2 separate regions of the Homo sapiens genome follow, and region 1 is linked to region 2. Evidence: promoter capture Hi-C in 16 types of primary human blood cells and fetal thymus (Javierre and others, 2016). All regions are on one chromosome and are shown on one strand. Each heading gives the region's core, a stretch centred on a gene start or on the middle of the fragment in contact. The rest is flanking DNA. Distances are from core to core; before and after follow the strand shown.

What was found. Contacts are between HindIII fragments. The CHiCAGO score rates a contact against its expected background, and 5 or more counts as called.
Region 1: a fragment that was not itself captured here is called in contact with the fragment with the promoter of CXCL14 in region 2 in 1 of 17 cell types (M1 macrophages); the score reaches 5.3 in M1 macrophages.

The regions. Positions count from the first base shown.
Region 1 is chr5:135,698,039-135,701,850 of GRCh38, reverse strand. It overlaps a transcript of SLC25A48 not described here. Among named protein-coding and RNA genes, the nearest start is that of SLC25A48-AS1, 46 kb to the right of the region's middle. The HindIII fragment of the contact is 1,389 bases long and covers 582-1,970 here.
Region 2 is chr5:135,576,912-135,580,411 of GRCh38, reverse strand. CXCL14 (C-X-C motif chemokine ligand 14) reads left to right here and starts at 1,421. Exons shown (of 4, transcript NM_004887.5): 1 at 1,421-1,697; 2 at 1,873-1,978. The coding sequence starts at 1,634. It also overlaps a transcript of SLC25A48 not described here. The HindIII fragment of the contact is 10,061 bases long and covers 1-3,500 here.

The DNA of each region.
Region 1 (3,812 bases), core at 27-2,526, 120 kb before region 2:
GTGGAGGACAGGTTGGCAGGGGCAAGACAGCTTCTCTTTTGATCTTGCTGGGTTCCATCTCGAGTTCACCCAAGGATACACTCCATATAGCCCATCCAGCCACATATGAGGAATGCCCAGATCTGGACCACATGAGGACCTTGCCGAGGGAACATGGAGCATGGGCTGCCTATTAGTCTGCTGGCTCAGACACTATCAAAGGCCATGGCCTATGCTACCAAGAGTTTTGGGGCCTGTCTCTTTTAAAAGTGGGAGGGACAGTCCTTTATTGTGTACCTTAAAGGATGACATTGGGAATGAATGAGAAAATGCACAGCAAAAGCTTTGCAATATGCAATTCAGTGTTCAGGGTGTATATGTGGTGGGGGCCGGTGGCGGGGGGGAGTTATGTTCCTCAAAATACTGCTCCCAATATGTCACCAGGTCCCCTGCTTAGACATAGGCAGTTTGGCTAACTTTGGTAACAAGGAGGGTGAGAACAGGGTAGAGGTGATTATCAGAAAAAAACTCCCAAGATGTGAAGTTGTTGAACCTCAGGATGTGACCTAGATGGAGCCATCACTAGCCATGTCACTGAAGCTTTGGTTCCCAGTAATCAGAGACGATGAGGGGAGAGCAGGGTGGTACACAGCCTGGGCCAAGTGGACCAGGGCAGGCAGGCTGAGCATCAGTCCTGGGGGTTCTTGACTGGAGGACTGACGGCCCACACTCTGAGGAAGATGGGTGCTACTCGGCCCATTACTACTGGAACTGGTGGCTGACAATACTCTAGGAGTGGGGAGAGCTGCAGGTCCCCAGGTCACTCTGTGCAGTGGAGGATGGCCCATTGCCAGATCTATAGGCAGGATGGAGCCCAGCAGAGCTGCCTCCTGATTCCAAGGCAGGAAAGTGAGCTCCCCCAGGTCCCAGGCCCTCTGCGATTTATGAGACCCTGTCATGCCTCAACCTGCACCAAATCTGCCTTAGCAGCTGGGAGCAGAGGCAGGCCTGGCAGGCCTCGGAGCACGTGCACAAGTGGTATCCACTGTGTTGTTACTGGTAGGTGCACCCCTGCTAGAGCTGCAGACATGGGGAGCCATGCAGAGGCCCAGGTAGGCACCCAGAGCCTGAGGGGACTGCAGAACTCTCCCTCAGACAGGGTGCCTATGAAGAGAGGAGGGTGCCTGCACCATTGAGAACAGTATTTACAACCTGGGCCACAAAATATAAAACCTAAGCCTGGGCCTTAGGGCTGGAGACAGCCAGGGAGGAACACAAGGAACAGCAAACACACAGGGGCCACCAGACATCTGCCCGTGGGGGCCTCTCCCAGAGATGGGCTCTAGAGGCTGGGCACCCTCCTTCATTGCTGTCCTCGGCCCCTAGCATAGCGTTTGATGTTTAGCAGGCATTCACTCAATATTTGGCTGACTAAAATTCACATTTTCAGTCCAATATCATTTTCTTTTCTTTCTTTCTTTTTTTTTTTTTTTTTTTTTTGAGACAGAGTCTTGCTCTGTCACCCAGGCTAGAGTGCAGTGGCATGATCTCGGCTCACTGCAACCTCCCCCTCCTGGGTTTAAGCAATTCTCCTGTCTCAGCCTCCCAAGTAGCTGGGATTACAGGCACACGCCACCAGACCCGGCTGATTTTTGTATTTTTAGTAGAGATGGGGTTTTGCTATGTTGGCCAGGCTGATCTCGAACTCCTGACCTCAGGAGTTGGCCTCCCAAAGTGCTGGGATTACAGGCATGAGCCACAGTGCTCAGCCCAATACCATTTTCTAAGTGCAGGACTGCAAGGCCATGTGTCAAATGCTGGTGGGGACTCAGAGATAACAAAATGAGGGGCAGACAGAATTAAAGGGAATAAGGCTTCAGGCCACGGAGTTGAGATTCTGTCTCCACCATTCAGTGGCTTTGTAACCCCTCAGAGACTCCATCTCCTCATTGGGTAAAAACAGGGTGTCAGGATAGCTTTTGATACAAGCTTTCAGGGAGCACTGGAAAGTGTAATAAGAGACTGGATATTAAAGAACCAGATAATAATGCATGCTGCATGACTAAGAAGCTCCTCTCTCAACACTTACCAAGCAGGTGGCTGTGAGCATTGCTGAGACCCTCACTAGGCAGTCTATCACTGTGCTACACAGAGGGAGTCTTCAGTCCATGCTGGCTATTACCATTGTTTTTAAAATCAAGTTATGAAATATAGAACATGTTACACATAATAAAATGCACAGATCTCACGTGTTCCAGTTGATGAGTGCTGATAATTGTACAGACCCAATTTCCAGTCACCCTGGAAGTTCCCTCGTGCCCTTTTTCAATCACGCTCTGCCTCCTTGCTCCCAGAGGCAACTTTTCCATCATCGTAGACAAGTTGTGCTTATTCCAGTACTTCATGTAAATGGAATCATGTCATGTATCTCTTGGTCTCATTCTTCCATGTCTGGCTTTTTTTTTTTCCCAGCGTAATGTTTTTGGGGGATTCATCCATATTGTTGCAGGTGTTAGTAGTTTGTTCTTTCTCCTTGATGCATAATATCACATCGTAATGTATACACATCACATTTAAAAATCTATTCTCCTGTTGAACACTTGGTTTGTTTCCAGCTTCCGGCTATTATAAATAAGTTTGCTATAAACATTCCTGTATAAGTCTCTGTACGGACATATGTTTTTACTTCTCTATGGTAAATAATTAGAAATCAAATCACTGGGTCATATTATAGATATGCTGCCAAACCGTTTTCCAAAGCGGTTTTATCATTTATGTTCTTACCAGTATTGTATGAGAGTTCCATTCATTCCATATCCTCACCAGCATTTGGTGTTACCCGTCCTTTTTATTTTCATCATTCTATTGGGTGTGAGTTAATATTTTAGGATGGGTTTGATTTGCATTTCCCTGATGACTAATGATCTGGAGCATCTTTTCATGAGTGCATTGGCCATTCACATATCTTCCTTTGTGAGATCTCCGTTCTCATTTTATAAATTAACTTGTTTGTCCTTTTTTCTGATCCACAGAAGTTTTAAAATATATATTCTGGATATAATTCCTTGATCAGATGTATGTATTTCAAATATATGTATTTCAAATGACTTATTCATTTCTTTATTGGTATCTTCTGAGGATGAAAACCAGAAACTTTTACTGTTGATGACCAGTTTATTCTTGTTTCTTTTTACGGCTAGTGCCCTTTGTATTCTATCTAAGAAATCTTTGCTTACCCCAAGATTATAAAGATATTCTTTCCAATATCTTTTTTTCAAGAAGCTTTTTGGTTCCAGGTTTTATATTTAGGCTTATGATCCATCTCAAATTATTATTATTTTTAAAAACTGTAGTGGTTGCTCAGAGCCATAAGGAAACACTCAAGTTCTTTATAGGATCAGACTTTTCTTAAGCTTCAGGCTGAAGATAGTATCAGTTCTAAGAAAAGACTTTTGTTAGAGTCATGGCTTTGACCCAGCCACATAGTTCTGCTGACTGACAACAGGCCACAGAGAGCTGGCTTAAGAACCACCAGCCAAAGAAAAAGCTAAGTTGATTTCCCTGTGTCCAACCATGGGGCACTAAGCTGATTGTTACCAACTCAAATCACCACAATGTGACCTTACAGTGACCATGAGAACCATAGCAGGTCCCAGCCTAGGGCCTTATGGTGACCATTAGGAGACAGCACTGAGGGTGTCAGGTGACCCTCACCCCCGTGAAGCCCAGCTGGTTGTTAGAGGCCTCCCTGCACTGACAACTTGGTAGATAATGTGATTTAGGCAGCTCCTCATAGGTAGATGCAGACCTAAAGGTGGCGAGGCCTGATTGCT
Region 2 (3,500 bases), core at 172-2,671:
TGCCAGGCTGATGGCATAGAGCTGGGTGAGCTCTCTCCTGACAGCCAAGCCCAGGGACTCCAAGAGCTTGAGATGATCCACCTCCTGTCTCTGGGTCTCTCAAGGCAGCAAGAAGTGAAGGGCAGACAGGCCTCAAAGCAACAGAGTGGTCCAGGGACAGGAGTCCCAGTTCTGCAGCCGTATATACTGAGGACCCTCCTGGCCTAGTCACCTGCTTCCTAGCTCTGTGACCTTGGACAAGTTATTTCTTCTCTCAGAGCATGTTTCCACACCTGTCAAATAAAGAAATTAAAAGTACCAACTTGGAAGAAAAGTACCAATTGGTAAGAATCAAAGTAATAGATAAATTAGACATAAAACGATGGTGCCAATAAGTAACATTTCCTGGGTACTGACAACATGTATGATTTCTATAGTTCTCACAGCCACCCTATCAGAAACACTGTGATGATCTGCACTTTACAGATGATGAAACAAAAGCTGAGAGCGGTAAAGTCACTTGTGCTGGAAAGTAGTGAGGAGGGAATTTCTGCCACTATGGCTGGGCTCACACCACTATACCTCGCATTCTGGCACAATGTCTAGAACATGGGAAGGCCTTCATCCAGATGGTTACCACTGTCATCGCTCTCCACTAGGGCTCTCTACCTGGCTTTGGAGAGTAGTGTGAGAGTGAGGACTCCTCCTGGTTCTCCCCACCACCCAGACACTCACACAGCCACCAGGCCACTGACCCACTTTAAGGAGCTTTCCTTTGGGAGTCACCAAAACTCCTCCCCAATACCCGTCCCCACCCCCGCATACACACACATACCCTCTTTGAGTCAGTTCCAGTGATCACAGTCAATGACTTTGCTGCTGGACAGTCTATGACAAGCCCCTGTCCAGAACTGGCCTTGTGTTCTGGCCCAGCAGGGGCCCTTGGGGGTCAGGCCTGCAGGCACTCACACTTGGCACCTGCTCCAAAACCCTTTCAGGTCTTTGAGGATCTGAGCCCTGGGCCTGGGTCTCCCGCCGGCTCGGAAAAGCTGGCCTGCCGGGCCAGAGAGAGAACCACACGATTCAGAAAAGCAGTGCCCTTCAGCAGCCTCTCCACCGTCTGGGCTCCCCAAAGGCAGAGCGGGACGCTGGAAATGTGTGCGCGCTGTGGTATGGGTGTGCAAGTGTGCGAAGGCGGCGTGTTGTGTGAGCGAGAGGGTAGCGGATGTGTGTGTGCGTGTGCGCGCGTGGCTCCGGGTGTGCGCCGCTGCGATAGCGGGTCCTTTCCCGGGGCGGGCGACGGGCGGGCTGGGAAGGTCTCCTCCCCTCACCACATTGAGAAATCTCAGTGAGTCACCGAGTGGTTCTGCATATTAATGAGCTCGCTCGCTGCGAGGGCAGGAGCGGATTTAAAAGAGGCCAGGGCGGGCGGAGGGAGGCTGTGGAGAGAGCGCGGAGACAAGCGCAGAGCGCAGCGCACGGCCACAGACAGCCCTGGGCATCCACCGACGGCGCAGCCGGAGCCAGCAGAGCCGGAAGGCGCGCCCCGGGCAGAGAAAGCCGAGCAGAGCTGGGTGGCGTCTCCGGGCCGCCGCTCCGACGGGCCAGCGCCCTCCCCATGTCCCTGCTCCCACGCCGCGCCCCTCCGGTCAGCATGAGGCTCCTGGCGGCCGCGCTGCTCCTGCTGCTGCTGGCGCTGTACACCGCGCGTGTGGACGGTGAGTGCGGGGAGCTCCCCTTGTCGCCGTCTCGTCTTGTCCTGTCCTGGGGAACCCAAGCGCCAATTTCTAGGCATCCTGGGATCCCGCGGGGGGTGGTCTGGGTGGGCACCAAGGTGGTCGAGGGGCAGGAGACCGCCTAGCAACTAAGCCGTTGCCCCGCGCTCGCTCGCAGGGTCCAAATGCAAGTGCTCCCGGAAGGGACCCAAGATCCGCTACAGCGACGTGAAGAAGCTGGAAATGAAGCCAAAGTACCCGCACTGCGAGGAGAAGATGGTTATGTGAGTTCTCGCTCCTCACCTTGAGGGGGTGCGCACTGCTGTCAACCCAATGCCAGGGCACAGCCTGGGCCTGGGTCGGGCTAACAAACATTTCTCTCCGACTTTGTCAAGGCCCTGGAAAAGCCTTTGTAATTGCCCAGAGAGTCCTTAGGACGCTGGCGAGACACTCTGGAAGACAGTCGGGAAGGGGGGTCACTGTCCCGCTCCGGAACAGCGCCTCCAAGTTCACCCTTGCTAGGATTCAAATGAGCAGTCTCCCTATTTGTACCATGGGCCACCCACTCTGCTAGGGCCATCAAGGGTTAAAGGGTTCCCTTGTGCCAACTCAGAAAACCTAGACTGAAATCACTTAAAACACACTCACACCCAAACTGTGAGGCGTGCTGCCTTCCTGTCACTGGATAGAGGACTAATGCAAACACTATCTTAAATCCTGAGTCTCCTTCAGAGCCTTGTTCCAGTCAGAGACAAGTGGACCGCAAGTTTTTGGCTCCTAGAGATTTTATTTTGAGAACGCTCCACGAGCTTCCCTCACCGACTGTACTCCTTGTGGGTCCCCAATACGGAGCAGTACTGCAGAAAGTGCTCTGCTGGGGTTAATGTGCCACATGGCTGGAGCCCTGCTTGGTGGGGATGTGGGGAATGTTGGAAAAACTGGGGCAGAGTGAGAGAACACTTAGTTTCTTGCTCCTCCGCCTTCCCAATTAACCACTTGAGGCCAGCACCGCTGCCTCCTCATCAATATGCTCTTGGCCAGGAAGGGAGCCCTTGGCAAAGCGGCTACCAAATATTTGCCACAGACCATTGGCCCCTCTTCCCCTCCCCCAGAAACAGGACGCACTTTATTCTCAGTCTGGGCAAGTGCCCTCCACCAGCTGGCCCCCACCGGCGCAAAGGCCTTCACAGTGTCTGCGAAAGCAGTGCACACCCCTACCCAGCACCCCCCATCCCCGTCTAGGGGCTACACTGTCAGGCTGAAATTAGGGGAATTCAGAAATCCACTGGAACTGAGCTGACCCCACTGCCTTCCTTCACAGACACCTAAATTAACTTGCTTGTCCCTACCCCTTGCCTTGCAGACCAAATTCAAAGAAAATACCCAAAAATCCTTTTGGGTGGGGGCCAAGTGTCAAATGAGCTGGGAAAGGAGCTCCAAGCTCCTCAGGGCTTCCAGTTTGGGGGCTAAGAATGACAGGGGAATTCCAAGTTAAATCTCACTCGTCTAAGAGCTGAAAACCACTCTATTAACCAAACAAGTTTCTGAGACCTTGCAGGGGAAGAAAGCAGGGTAAAGGATGCAGTGATACCTAAAAAGGACAGAGCCCTCAGTAAATAGGCTTGCTCTTTTCCTGGCTAAACTTTTCCACATATAGAGAAAAACTATAGCTAGGCAAGTGTGAGAAAGGCTTTACGGAGCCTTGTAGAAACGTGCAGGGGCCTCAGGAGATCAGCACACAATCCAATCACCCTCTACTAAACCTCTAACCCACCCCCTAGGGCCTCCCACTCCATCCCTGAGGGC